Linked DNA regions of Homo sapiens: regions 2 and 3 are each linked to region 1. Evidence: promoter capture Hi-C in human tissues and cell types (Jung and others, 2019). All regions are on one chromosome and are shown on one strand. Each heading gives the region's core, a stretch centred on a gene start or on the middle of the fragment in contact. The rest is flanking DNA. Distances are from core to core; before and after follow the strand shown. Region 1 holds the start of KIF21A (kinesin family member 21A). Region 2 has its middle 18 kb from the start of LINC02471. Region 3 overlaps CPNE8 (copine 8).

What was found. Contacts are between HindIII fragments. The study calls those that stand out against the background at their distance.
Region 2: a fragment that was not itself captured here is called in contact with the fragment with the promoter of KIF21A in region 1 in 1 of the 25 tissues and cell types used here (lymphoblastoid cells).
Region 3: a fragment that was not itself captured here is called in contact with the fragment with the promoter of KIF21A in region 1 in 1 of the 25 tissues and cell types used here (lymphoblastoid cells).

What each region holds. Positions count from the first base shown.
Region 1 is chr12:39,440,427-39,445,557 of GRCh38, forward strand. It overlaps KIF21A (kinesin family member 21A), which reads right to left and starts at 2,694. Exons shown (of 38, transcript NM_001173464.2): 1 at 2,501-2,694. The coding sequence starts at 2,544. RefSeq lists enhancers at 1,635-1,704, 2,523-3,023, 3,305-3,364 and a silencer at 2,325-3,224. The HindIII fragment of the contact is 12,215 bases long and covers 1-5,131 here.
Region 2 is chr12:40,135,817-40,140,947 of GRCh38, forward strand. No RefSeq gene overlaps it. Among named protein-coding and RNA genes, the nearest start is that of LINC02471, 18 kb to the right of the region's middle. The HindIII fragment of the contact is 6,367 bases long and covers 1-5,131 here.
Region 3 is chr12:38,781,674-38,786,804 of GRCh38, forward strand. The region is part of intron 6 of CPNE8 (copine 8); the gene reads right to left. Among named protein-coding and RNA genes, the nearest start is that of CPNE8, 120 kb to the right of the region's middle. The HindIII fragment of the contact is 6,233 bases long and covers 1-5,131 here.

The DNA.
Region 1 (5,131 bases), core at 1,444-3,943:
ATAACAGGACCTAAGTCACAGATTGTTATGAGGAATAAATAAGACTTTACATGAGATAAAACATCTTAACACAGCACTAATCCCGGCACACAGTATAAGTCAAACAATTATCACTACTTTTAGCCCAGAAATCAGGATAACAGAGACGGGTATATATCTTCAATAAATAATGGTTATAAATGAACAATATAAGTCCAAACACTTTATAAATACTAAAGTGCTATATGAGTATAAGCTATTTTTATCCTATATAAAGTAAGTTTACAAGGTAGCTCTGTTCAGAGAACAATGTATTTAATGAAAGAAATCCCCGATTTATCCAGGCGCAGTGGCTAATGCCTGTAATCCCAGCAATTTGGGAGGGACGGCTTGAGCCCAGGAGTACAAGACCACTCTGGGAAACATAGGGAGGCCCCATATCTACAAAAATGTATAAAAATTAGCCAAGCAGTGTGGCACATGCCTGTGATCTCAGCTACTCAGCAGGCTGAGATTAGAGGATTGCTTGAGCCCATGAGGTTGAGGCTGCAGTGAGCTATGATGGCACCACGACACTCTAGCCTGGGTGACACAGCAAAACCCTATCTCAAAAAAAAGAAAGAAGAAAGGAAAGAAGAGAGAAAGAGAAAGGAAAGAAGGAAGGAAGGAAGGAATCCTGAATTCAACAAATTGAATCTTTACAATATGGCTTACTAAGTTATGTTGAAGTTTTTATAAAGCCTTTCCCCAAAAATCAAACCCACATTCATTCACCTAAAAAGTCCTAACATACACACCAAAACAAAATACAAGTTATTTATCAGTCAGCATCACTTTAGGGTCATCCATGGCTCTACAGGCAAAGAAGCATCGGATTTAACAGAATGGTCAACAAACTGCCTTGTGATAGTCTAGAGAATTCACATATAAAAATCTCAAACGTCTAAAAACAGACAAATTGTCTGTTTTCAGTAATATTTTATGCACCTTCTTCACTTTCCTTGATCAGATCTCCTAACAAAATTGCCTCTTATTGGGTTTTCTGTCTTTTTCCTTCCCCTTTCTCCACCCTGGTGCAGTCATTAACTGGTATTAAAGGGCCAAAAGAGAGGTAGTAGCAGTGAATAGGAGAAACAGACTAATCTAACAATTGGATAAGTAGCCCTAGAATAACGAAGAAGGCCTAATTAAAACTTCAAAAGCCTTATAACAGGTGATTCTAACCAGTCATAAAACTGTCACCTCCCTGGGTGGTAAAAAAAAAAAAAAAAAAAACACTTAAAAACTCATTTTATTATTTAAGTTAATTAAAGATACAAAGTATACGAAACAGCCATTACTATGCCTGACCCAAGATGTGTCACTAAAATAGTAACTATAGAAATGTTTAGAGGGGAGAATTTTTAGAATAATTTTCTGGAAAGACTACAAGACTGGGAGATTGTTAATAGTTCCTAATTCCTTGGAGTGTAGATTATTTTTATAATCCTTAAAGCATAAATAAGGAGAAGTGAATTAACAGTAGACTCTCAGAGCTGTGAAAGCCACGCACTTACTCTAGGATGAATGCTTCATTAATTTTTCACACAGTGTGATGATGTTGCAATTTTCCATGAGCAACTATCAGAGCTTTCCTTCTTGATAAGTATCAAAACAGCCGAAATTACATCGAATACTCGTGCCTGTCATTGGCCGAAATATAATTTCAATACTAGGATGTACCTAGTATTTCCAGACTCACACCCTGGCCTGGGTAACGTTACGATTACATTGTATCCACCCTGCCTAATGTCAGTATGTTTCACACAGTCACCCATTTCACCCTTCCTCTGGCTAAAGAGTTTTCCTCCTTCTGTAGACCTCTCCCCAGTGGATTTTACCTTAAATTCCACTCCCATTCCAACACCCAAGAGGCTAGATCTGTCTCCTCTACCCACACGCGGGGGCATGTCTAGATCCCCGTGATGCTGAAAAAGATGTCTCATTTGCACAGACATCAGAACCCGAGTGGGCGCGCGGCGGGCCCTGCGGTCGCCGGCGCTGATAGTCAGATGCTTTGTCTCCTGCCTGGGAAGGCCGGAGCTGCATGGACACGTATGACAGACATTCTAGAACTAATAAAAAAGAACACCACAGCCCCGCGCACAGGCAGCTCCTCCCGGACAGGCGATAGCCCAAGGCGGCCAGACCTGAGGTGACTGATCCCGCGAGGGGACGGAGGGGAGTGACGAGGGCTTTTCCCCCAGAGAAGTCAAGACGCCCCCCAGGGACCCGGCGCCGCGCAGCCGCCAGCCACCTGCAAACACAGACGGCGTGAGGGCGGCGCAGTCGCCCTGCCAGCACCCGGCCGCGCGTGCCAGGCCAGCGGGGACTCACTGCCTCAGTTTCCTCAGCCGCAGAACCCGGCCGGGACGCCCCTCAGGTCGCTCCACCCCGGTAGCCGGTGCTCCGCGCCACAGCCAGGTCCTTGCCGCGCCCTCAACCCGCCGCCCGCCGCCCGCCGCCGGCAGACTGTCCTCACCTGACAGCCACCCGCACGGAGCTCTCGTCCGGGGCGCCCAACATGCTGGCGGCGGGCAGCGATCGAGCCGTTGGGCCTCGGCACCGCAGAGCTGAGGCGCCACTGGGGCCGCGGGACTCGGGCGCAGTAGGCTGGGGCGTCTGCGGGCGGGCGGCCGGCTCACCTCCGCCGCGCTCCAGCCATGTTGGGCGACTGAATGGAAAGGTGGCGGCGGCGCTGAGGCAGCAAGAGGAGGAGGTGATTCACGGCTCGCGGGCGCCCGCCCCTTCTCCACCGCTCACCCCCCAGGATCTGGGGCGGGGACAAAGCGCGCTTGAACGGCGAGCGCGCCTGTGGAGAAGCCAACAGGCCGCCAGCGGCCTCAGGGCGGCCGGGTGAGTGCGCCCTGCCCCCTCCGGTGGGGACGCGGCCTCCCAGCGGCCAGGCTGGGGACTCCACGCCCGCCAGGGCGCTCCGGGCTCCTCGCCCCGCACTGCGTCAGCCGCCGCCGCGCGGCTCAGCCCCACCTCGCCCTCCCCCAGCCTGCGCCCCGCCCTGCCCTCGTCGGGACACTGCCTGGCGCTGCTGGGCAGGGAGGCGAGGGGGAGGGATGCCTGCCGCCGGCTGCCCTCGCCCGAGGGCGACCAGCCTGTGCGCCCTTCCAGGCTCTTCTGGGAGAAGGAAGCAGCTAGTGCACGCGCTGCTGCCAGGTCCCTTCTCAAATCGAAGCTTGATTCAGCGGCGCGCCGGGAGCCAGGCAGCTGCTGCTGCGGTTCGGCTTTGTGTCCCACGCATAGCCTTATTGTCCTCTCTGCAGCTTGGACTTTGACCCCCTTCCCTAGCCCCCAGCTGAACGCCCTCCCTCCTCCCTCCCCGGAGTCAGTCATTCATGCTAAACGGACTCCCAGGTTTGTCCACTGTCTCTGGACAGCTGGGCTGTTCTACAGTTCATCGCCCGTTTACCAGCTCGGGTGGGATATGGAAATGATTTATTCGAGACTCCTGAATGCTTTTCTGTTCAATCATTTGTACACTGGTAAATGAACTGCACCCTGGTACTGCCAAGTGTTCCCAGAACTGAATATATCCACCAAGACCTGCTGTGTAGTAAATCCTTCCAAACTGATTTTCTTTCCCTTCTGGCCTTTAAAAAGCACCTCCCAATCCCAGGATTCTCTCAACATTGACCCATTGTGGTTTCTGTTTGTCACTATTGTGCTTCCACATGCCTTCAGATAGCTCTGTGGAAACAGCCTTTATTAGCTTTGCCACAGAGTATCTTTTGTGGACTGCTCCATACATCTCTATAAACAAACATGTGGCTTCATACGAAATAGTATCACAAATTAAATGGCACTATCCAAATAAAGGCACTACCTCAAATGCCTGCAATCTACAATCACATACCTAATCATCTTGTTCAGCAGTGATACAGCAGTGTGGCTCAGAGAAGGCTGCAACACTATGGGAAAAACAAGAAGTGTTTGATGATTTAAACCCATGGGAAGGCCGATGGGGTATATAATTATAGATAGTTTTAAATTTATTCTGTCCCTTAATCTCACTACCCCTAAATCTTAACAGACATGTAACTGGGAGGTAAAGAGGGCAGAGATGCTGAGTATCCTTCTATAGATCAAATTGGTGGGAAAGCTCTCCTCTGGCTACTCTTTGGAGGGCCTTTCCTAGCCTCAAAATTTATCCATCAACAAATCAGAGCTGCATTTCACCCTGCCCTGGCAAGCCCATATCTGGGTGGATCTGGGCTGGCCACCTTGCTTCTTTTGTTGATGAAAGCTGCAAGGAAAGCAAGAATGGCCCAGCACATTTAACAAGAAAACTAAAGAGAAATTTGTATAATTAAGACCCTCTTTTTAAAAAAAGTTCTTTTTTATTTTATTTTATTTTGAGACAAAGTCTTGCTCTGTCACCAGGCTGGAGTGCAGTGGCGTGATCTCGGCTCACTGTAACCTCTGCCTCCCGGGTTCAAGCGATTCTTCTGCCTCAGCCTCCTGAGTAGCTGGGACTACAGGCGTGTGCCACCATGCCCAGCTAATTTTTGTATTTTTAGTAGAGACAGAGTTTCACCGTATTGGCCAGGCTGGTCTTGAACTCCTGACCTTGTGATCCACCCGCCTCGGCCTCCCAAAGTGCTGGGATTACAGGCATGAGCCACCACACCCAGCCTATTTTATTTTTTGAGACAGTGTCTCGCTCTGTCATCCAGGCTGGAATGCAATGGTGTGATCTCAGCTCACTGCGACATCGACATCCTCCTCCGGGGTTCAAGGGATTCTCGTGCCTCAGCCTCCGGAGTAGCTGGGATTTCAGGCATGTGCCAACACATCCAGGTAATTTTTGTATTTTTAGTAGAGATGGGATTTCACCATGTTTACCAGGCTGGTCTCAAACTCCTGACCTCAAGTGATCCGCCCACCTCAGCCTCCCAAAGTGCTGGGATTACAGGCATGAGCTACCTCACCTGGCCAAAAAAAGTTCTCATTTTAAATAACAATAGTATACATATATGTCTCAGTAAGGGGAGTCACAAACACAAATGCCTACAGGAGCCAGGCAGGTAGCTCAAAAGAGCAGAGCAAGATGAATACTATGATAAAGGTGAGGACTATCATAAAATAGAGACACAGGCCC
Region 2 (5,131 bases), core at 1,592-4,091, 700 kb after region 1:
TTGGAGCTGAACATCAATCCATAGAGGTGATTAGAATACTTTGGATTAGAACTACATATTTTCTAGGCCAGGTGTGTTGGCTCATGCCTATAATACCAGCACTTTGGGAGGCCAAGGCAGGTGGATCCCTTGAGTTTAGGAGTTTGAGACCTGGGCCTGGCAACATAGCAAAGTCCCACCTCTACAAAAAAAATACAAAAAATTATTCGGGCCTAGTAGTGTGGGCCTGTAGTCCCAGCTACTTGGTAGGCTGAGTTGGGAGGATCACTTGAGCCTGGTAGATGGAGGTTGCAGTGAGCCGAGATCGTGCCACTGTACTCCAGCCTGGGTGACAGAGTGATACCCTGTCTCAAACAAACAAACAAACAAACACCTGCCGCCCCACCCCACAAAACTAATTATTTCATTGAGTGATTCCTGTCTACTTTATAGAAAACAAAACAAATGACTGAGACCAGCCTGGGCAATATAATAAGACTCTGTCTCTGGGGGGAAAAAAAAGAAAGGAAGAAAGAGAAAAAAGAAAAAAGATGAAGAAAACAAATAACTTAAAGTTCACTTAAAAGTATTATAAAGCACATGACAGACCTTTTTTATTATTTTTATTTTTTGTGGGTACAGAGAAGGTTTATGTATTTATGGGATACATGAGATGTTTTGATACAGGCGTGCAATGTGAAATAAGCACATCATGAAGAATGGAGTATCCATCCCCTCAAGCATTTATCCTTTTAGTTAAAAACAATCCAATTACAGTCTTTAAGTTTTTTAAAAGTGTAAAATTACGTTACTATTGACTATAGTCACCTTATTGTGCTACCAAATAGTAGGTCTTATTCATTATTTATATATTTTTTGTACTCATTAACTTTCCCTACCTTTCCCCCCCACTGCCCCACCCCCACTACCCTTCCCATATTCTGGTAACCACCCTTATGCCCATGAGTTCATTTGCTTTGATTTTTGGATCCCACAAATAAGTGAGAACATGCAATGTTTGTCTTTCTGTGCCTGGCTTATTTTGCTTCACATAATGATCTCCAGTTCCATTCATGTTGCAAATGACTGGACCTCATTCTTTTTTTTGGCTGAGTAGTGCTCCATTGTGTATATGTACCATATTTTCTTTACCCATTGATCTGTTGATGGACACTTAGCTATTGTAAACAGTACTGCAACAAACATAGGTGTGCAGATATCTCTTCAGTATACTGATTTTCTTTCTTTTGGGTATATACCCAGCAGTGGGATTACTGGACTGACAGACCATTTTAAAAATTCAAAACAAAGTTGAAACATAATTGAGATATTTTTACAAAATTGAGCCAAAATAGAATTTTAATTTTTAGATACAGTAAAATGAATCTATAACTTGGTTTCTTTTAAAAATCATCAAATATTCAGGAATATTAACTAAAATTGACATATCAACAAATGTTTCAAAGGAGAGAATTAACTTGAAAGTGCTTTTAAATGTAAATTGCTATATAAATAGAAAATATAAAAGATAGTTTTACTCAGTTCTTTGTACCAAGCATCATCAGGCACTGAGGGCAAGTCACAAATAAGCAAGGAAATAAACGAACCACAGCCTGTTGTTTCTTTTTAAAGGATGCTGACAGTCACTTCCTGTCTGAGAGCGTGTCATCTTTTGCTTCCCTATTTGAATCAGGATATTCTCGTGACTAGACATGTTTATATTCATGCCCACACAAATGTCTACCAACTGAATGTGTAAGTCAAGATCAAAAAAATTTTCACTAGAGTATACATATATATGTAATACATTACATAAATGAGGAAAAATAAAACTATATGAAAATCTAATGAGATGGTTTCTGTAGTGCACTAAACCCTCTTGTCTAAGAATTAACCAAAATGAAACATAAACATTTAGTAGACTGGATTTATAGAGGAGCATTTTGAATAGTGGGACAATAATTCTGGATTCTCATGTTATAGTATGGTTGGCTATATATTTAAATCTAAACATTTTAGTTGATTAAATTCATTCAGCTATTCATCCATTCAACAAACTTTTATTGCTTGCTACTGCAGCCAATACTGTGTTTGGTTCTAGTACCTCAGAGGAAAGTAAGACATCCCTTTCTCTCAAAAGTCAACAATCTAGTAGAGGAAATAAAAGTAAATCTAGGATTGTGAGGTACTCTGATGGGAAGAGGTGTGTAGAGACAGCTTTAGGTGAACAAACAGGGGATGCCTAAATTGGCCTAGGGCTATGGCTGGAGAGGTGAGGTGGGGTAAGATCAAAGAACACTTTATGGGGGAAGTGATGTTTCAGCTTACTTTTAATGGAAGAAGAGACAATGTGAAGCGTGTTATAAGAAAAAGAAAACTGCTTTATCCATGGGAGAATTCAGTCAATTCTGTTTGAATGGAGAGAAGGATGATTATTGGGAACAATGGGAATGGAGGGTGTAGTGGAAAGTGGGAAGCAAGTAGTATGAGGGTATTTAGGAATGTTTAAAGTTTCTGCTCCTTGTTTTCTTACTGATGGATTTTTAAGTAAAGGAGAAACATAATCAGATTCAAATACTAGAAAGATAACTCTAGTAGTGTAGAGAAGAGAATTGAGTGACAGGAAAACTCATTAGAGTCCATTGTGGTAAACTAGTTCTGGAGCTGAGGCACTGCATGGGGAGAGAGACTGGTCAGGGGTGGTGACCTTCACTGAGATCAAAAACACCCACCCATTGTGGGGAAGGTTGGGGAGGAAATAATGAGTTGGGTTTTGTAACTGTATTGAGATGTATTGTCCAATTATATGGGTTTAGTAGGAAGTTGGATACATGGGAAACAGCAATGCTTAAGAAGAGGGCATAAAGAAGGAAGGATGTGGAAAGAGGGGAAAACCTCGTGATATTTTGCCTTAAATGGTTAATTCTCTTAGTCAAGTTGGTGGCTATGTTTTGACCTGTCTGGTATTGTCAGGTACACATAGCCTTGGAATTTGAATTCTTGTGAAGAGAGAAGGAACAGTAGCAGCTGGTACCCCAATAAGAAACACAGTGAATGAGTTATCGGTTATTAAAGCTTTTGCTTAAAATACTCATAAAAACTTCTGTCTGATACTTGCAAAGAGCTATTAATAATCTTACCCATTAAAGACATACATTGTCATTTTTCCTTAATAAAAATGTATTCTCTGCCACAGCTGCTATTACCTTATCAACATCTGCCCGTGATTGATAGGAAAGTTTGTTTTTAAAATGAAACTAGGATAAAAAGTCTGTCATTTAATATACTTATATGCAATCTGTATCATGATGGATCAATGAATTTATTTTTAATATGAAATCTGGATGAAAATCTTTGGGTTATTAAAAAATTCAAATGTAAATATATTTTAAAAGACAGTCCTATAAATAACAATGTCAGGAATTTAGCAATAGGATTATTAGTTTATATGAAGTCTTTTGATAATGTTTTTTATTAAAACTATGGTTTTACTTTAATAATTGAAGATACTTTGTAGATATGATATACTTGAATTTTCCATTGACTTACTTATATAAAAGTCATTTGTTATGATAGTTACACAATGATATAAATGTACTTAATGCCATTGGACTCTATACTTAAAAATTTTTTAAATGGTAAATTTGTGTTATTTATATTTTACCTCACAAAAAAAAGTCATTTGCAACACGATTTAATATGCTTAGTCTGGACAATTTCTCTACTGTGAAAGTAAAACCTAAATAGTGAATTACATGCTTTGATGTTGCAATGAGAGGGCAGTTGTGCATTAAATAGCCTTTGGGTGCATCAGAGAAAGATCAGAGAAGAATAAATGTCCCAGCCCACCTCTATTACCCTCTGTTGGCATACCTTAAGAAAATAATTCTTTTAAATTATGTCAAAAAAACTGTAATTAATGAGGACACACTTTAAAAGAATGTAATTATTTTGTAAGTTAATCAAGGAGAATATGAAAGGAAGGACAGGATTTAACTCAGAGACTCACTTGATCCCTGTCCTTGGAAGCAGTCTCTCCTTGTTATCGTGGAGGGTAGCACGCTTGGCAAGAATATACATTTGACACACTTGAGATTTAAAAACTATAAACTTGTACTATGGGATTATAGTAGAATTCTAATTAGTAATATTAGCCAGTCATTTTTTGGCCTTTGATAAAGTTTGAGAGAATTTTCATCATTGCCCAAAGAAACTCTGTAACTACAGTCCCATTAGCAGGCAGTCCCCAAAACTGACAGTTCTTCAAAATTATCTGGAGCGTATTTTAATATGCATTGTCTCTCTTTTCACCCTAGATGGACCAAATCCGATTATTTGGGAATGGGGCCTCAGTTCTACATTTCAATAAAGTATTCTGAGTTAAATTAATGTGATCTATCTGTGAACTTTCATTTATGAAACACTGTGTTAGTTCTGTTTCCATGAGGCAAATATATACCTTCAAATTCACCTTGGTGGGCCTAATACAAGGCAGTTTATTCATTTATTCAAAAACATTTTATTGCATGCCTGTTTCACTTAAGTATATCATTGATGAAGTAGTTACAATTATTTGTGTTATTAAATCTCAACCCTTGAGAAAATGTTCTGCTAATATTCTGCGTGATAAAATGGAAAGTATGCATTAGGCACTTCTGCTGCTTACTCAACTATGATGGTTGTCTGGAAGAAAAGCATTTGTGCCAGTGAGTTGCAAATGAACTACACTTTTCTTCAGAAAACACCATTAAAAGAACGAACATTGACAAAGAAACCATGTCTATTCAGACTTGGATAATTGGCAAATATTTTCTCAAAAATGAGCAAAGTGAGTTTGATAATTCAAGGAAAACAACTGACCGCATTTGTTGTCAATGATAAAATTTGAGTTTTCAAGGAAGAGTTACATGTTGAAAAATGTGTGTCTACCAGAATGAACTTGATGCGTCCCAGTAGTTCAAACATTTTGATGATATTGGTGACATTAATAAATGTTCATTTTTGAAATTATAAAATGAAATGTGTCAGCATTTAGAAAATCTGCATAACCCAGTGGAATAATGTTTTCTAAATGACCAACACATGATGTTACAAAATCATCCACACTTTGTGTAAGATAAAACCAATGAATTTTAGTGTAACAGAGAATGAA
Region 3 (5,131 bases), core at 1,717-4,216, 660 kb before region 1:
ATTATGTTGAACAATTTCATGGTAAACACCCTTGGCAAGGTGATCAAGGTTAATATCACCAGTGATAAGTCATATTAATATGTATTCCTGATAAGATGTAAGGAGAAAGACACTTCACTCCTGTGGCCTTCTACCCAAATCCTTAACTCCAATCTAACCATGAGAAAAACATCACACAAATGCAAATTTAGGGACATTCTACAAAAAATCTAATACTTCCTCAAAACTATCAAGGTCATACAAAACAAGGAAAGACTAAGAAATTGTAACATATCAGATCAAAAGAAAGTGTACATCCTGAAATGAATTCTGAATGAATTCTGGTATAAAAAGAACATTAGTGAAAAATGAGTGAAATTCAAGTAAAGTTTGAAATTTAGCTAATAGTAATATATGTACCACTGTTGTCTTTCTAGTTGTGACAAATGTATTAAATACCATGGTAACACAAGATGTTAATGTTAGAAGAAACTGGTGTGACAGGAATACAGGAATTTTCTGTACTATTGTAACTTTTCTATAAACATAAAACTATTCTAAAATACAAAGTTTATTGAAACAATGCAAGGTCAATAAAAGACAAAGGCTAAGAAACGATTTCACGTTAAAAGAGACTAGAATTAAAACAACTAATCTCAATTATGATTCTTAATTAAATTTTAGAAGAGGAAAATATACCTATAATGACATTATTGGTACAACTGTTGAAATGTGAGTGAAGCATAGATTAGATAATATGTATCATTGTGAAGTTTCCTGATTTTGATCATCATATTGTGGTTGTGTAAAAGAATATTCTTATTAAGAAATTCACTCTCAAGTATTTAGAGGAAAGAGGGCATAATTTTTCCAACAATGTCTCCAACTTACTCTCAAATGACTCAGAAAGAAAGACCTAGAATATGAAACAGAAAGAGAATGAGAAAGAGGGTAAGAAAGTGAATAGAATAAAGTTAGCTTCTGATTAAAGTAAACAGGAGTTCTGAACTACATTTTTTGTTTTGTTTTTGTTTTGTTTTTTTTTTGAGACAGGGTCTCACTTTGTCACCCAGTTTGGAGTGCAGTGGAGTGATCAGAGCTCACTTAAGCCTCAAATTCCTGGACTCAAGCAATCTTCCCATCTCAGCCTTCCAAGTAGCTAGGAATACACATATGTGCCACCATGCTCAGCTAACGTTTTTTCATTTTTTTAGACAGGGTCTCACTATGTTGCCTAAGCTGTTCTCAAACTACTGGGCTCAAGCAATCCTCCAGAATTGACCTCCCAAAGTGCAGGAATTGCAGGCATGAGCCACCCCACCTTGACTACTCTCGCAACTTTTACATGCAGTTGAAATTATATCAGAAAAGAAAGTTACCAAAAAAGATCAATTTTAAAGATTGCTTCTTTTAACTGTATTCTTACATTTTGAGAGACATAGAATAATAAAACTCATCCACATTACAGTTAAACATGATCTCAAGAGATTATTAGAGATGAGTAATCCTTCACAAAATTTAGGACATAGATAAGACTGGTGGAAGGCGGAGCAAGATGATGAAATAGAGGGCTCCATTGATCATCCCTCCTGCAAAGACAACTATCTATATTTTAACAACTATCTATACACACACACAAAGCATCTTCATAAGAACTGAAAATCAGATGAGCACTCACAGTACCTGGCTTTAACTTCATATCATCAAAAGAGGCACTGAAGAACTAAGAAAATCAGTCTTGAATCACCAGTGTCACCCCTCCCTAATCCCCTTGCAGCTACACTGTGGTGCTGAGAACATTTCCGTGTGCTGGGGAGAGGGGAGTGCAGCAATGGTGAGGTATTGAACTCAGTGCTGCCCTGTTATAGCAGAAAGTAAAACCAAACCAAACTCAGCTGATGCCCACCCACAGAGGGAGCATTTAAACTAGTCTTACTACAGTCACACAGTCCTAGTGATGATAGCCAAAGACAGGCTTGTGTCACCGCATCCCAAGCTTCAGGTGGCTCAGAACAAAGAAAGAGAGACCCTGTTTGTTTGGGAGAAAGTAAGGAAATAGAACAAGAGTCTCTGCCAGGTAATCCAAAGAACTCTTACAGATTTTGTCCAAGACTATCAAGGCAGTATCTCTACTAGTCTGCAAGAACCACAGCATTGGTGGGCTTTGGCCCCTAAAGTAGATACAGTTTAGATCACAACACTCGAGTTTTCTGAAATATCTGGAAAGTCTTGCCAAGAAGAATGGGTACCAACAAGCCCAGACAGTGAAGACTAAAATAAATACCTAACTCTTCAATGCTTCAATGTTCAATGAACATCTACAAGTATCAAGACCATTAGGAAAACATGACCTTAACAAATGAACTAAATAAAGCACCAGGAACCAAGCCTGGAGAAACAGAGATATGTGAGCATACAGACAGAGAAGTAAAAATAGCTGTTTTGAGGGAACTCAAATTGAAGATGACACAGAAAGTAATTCAGAATTCTATCAAATAAATGTAACAAAAAATTAAAATAATTTAAAAGCATCAAACAAAAATTCTGGAGCTAAAAATACAATTGGCATACTGAAGAATGCATCAGTCTTTTAATGGCAGAGTTGATCATGCAGAATAAAGAATTAGTGAGCTTGAAGACAAGCTATTTGAAAACGGACATTCAGAGAAGACAAAAGAAAAAAGAATGAAAAACAAAAAAGCATGCCTACAGGATCTAGAAAAAAGCCCCCAAAGGGCAAATCTAAAAGCTACTGGCCTTTTAAAAAGGAGGCAAAAAAGAGACAGGAGGAGTAGAAAGTTTATTCAAAGAGATAATAACTGAGAACTTCCCAGACCTAGAGAAAGATACCAATACCCAAGGATAAAAAAGTTATACTACACCAAACAGATTTAACCCAAAGAAGACTACCTCAAGGCATGTAGTAATCAAACTCCCAAAGGTTAAGGATAAAGGAAGAATCCCAAAAGCAGCAAGAGAAAGAAACAAACACCACACAAAGTGGCTCCAATATGTCCGGCAGCAGACTTTTCAGTGAAATCTTTCCAGGACACAAAAGAGTGGCATGACATATATAAAATGCTGAAGGAAAAAAAAAACTTTTTACCCTGGAATAATATACCTGGTGAAAGTATCCTTCAAACATGAATAAGACATAAAGAATTTCTCAGACAAACAAAATCTTAGGGATTTCATCAACACAAGACCTCTCCTATGAGAAATGCTAAAGAGAATATCTCAAATCAGAAAGAAAAGGACCTTGCCTGGTGCGGTGGCTCACGTCTATAATTCCAGCACTTTGGGAGGCTGAGGTGGGCAGATCACCTGAGGTCAGGTGTTTGAGACCAGCCTGGCCAACATGGTGAAACCCCGTCTCTACTAAAAATACAAAAATTAGCTGGGTGCGATGGCACGTGCCTGTAGTTCCAGCTATTCAGAAGGCTGAGGCAAGATAATCGCTTGAACCCAGGAGGAGGAGGTTGCAGAGATCGTGCCACTGCACTCCAGCCTGGATGACAGAGTGAGACTCTGTCTCTGAAAAAAAAAAAAAAAAGGACCCATTAAGGAGCAATAAGAAATCATCTGAAGGTACAAAACTCACTGACTCACTGATAGTAGCAAGTACACAGAATATTATAACACTATAACTGTGTAACTGTGGTGTGTAAAATAATCTTAAGTAGAAAGACTAAAAAATTAACCAATAAAAAAAAAAAACATGATATGGTTTGGCTGTGTCCCCACCCAAATCTCATCTTGAATTATAGCTCCCATAATTCCCACATGTTGTGGAGGGACCTGGTGGGAGGTAATTGAATCATGAAGGCAGGTATTTCCCAGGCTGTTCTTGTGATAGTGAATAAGTCTTAGAAGATCTGATGATTTTATAAAGGGGAGTTCCCCTGCACATATTCTCTCCATGTAAAATATGACTTTGCTAATCATTCACCTTCCACTAAGATTGTGAGGCCTCCCCAGCCACGTGGAACTATGAGTCAATTAAACTTCTTTCCTTTATAATTTACTCAAGCTCAGGTATGTCTTTATTAGCACCATGAGACATACAAGAAGACATATATAGACACAACAAAAAGTTAAAAAGCAGAGGAACAAAGTTAAAGCATAGAATTTAAGAGTTGTCTTTTTGCTTACTTCCTTGTTTATGCAAACAGTGTTAAGTTGTTAAAAGGCTGAAATAATGAGTTATAAGATAATATCTGCAAGCCTCTTAGTAACCACAAACAAGAAAATACAAGAGATACAAAAAATAACAAAGAAAAGCAAAACACTAGATCATATCAACAGAGAAAATCACCTTCAACAAATGGAAGAAGGAAGGAAAGAAAGAAGAGAACACAAAACAACTAGAAAAAAAATAAGAAAATGACAGGTGAAAGTCCTTACTTATCAATAATAACACTAAATGCAAATAAACTAAACCCTCCAATCAAAAGACACAGAGAGGCTGAATGGATTAAAAAACAAAGCCCAATGTTCTGTTGCCTAGAAGAAACACACTTAACTTATAAAGACAAGCACACACTGAAAATAAAGGGATGAAAAAAGATAACTGTGATGGTTAATACTGAGTGTCAACTTGATTGGATTGAAGGATACAAAGTATTGATCCTGGGTGTGTGTGTGAGGGTGCTGCCAAAAGAGATTAACATTTGGGTCAGTGGGCTGAGAAAGGCAGACCCACCCTTACTCTGGGTGAGCACAATCTCATCAGCTGCCTGTGCAGATAGAATGTAAGTAGGCAGAAAAATGTGTAAAGAGAGACCGGCCTAACCTCCCAGCCTACATCTTTCTCTCCTGCTGGATACTTCTTGCCCTGGAACATCAGACTCCAAGTTCTTCAGTTTTGGAACTTGGACTGGCTCTCCTTGATCCTCAGCCTGCAGATGGCCTATTATGGGACTTTGTGATCGTGTGAGTTATTAATATATATATATTCCATTAGTTCTGTCCCAATAGAGGACCCTGATTAATACAATATCCCATGCAAATGGAAACCAAATAAGAGTAGGAGCAGGTATACTTATATCAGACAAAATAGGTTTCAAGACAAAAACTATCAAAAGAGACAAAGAAGGTCACTATATAAAGATAAAGGGGTCAATTAAGCAAGGGAGTCTAGCAATTTTAAATA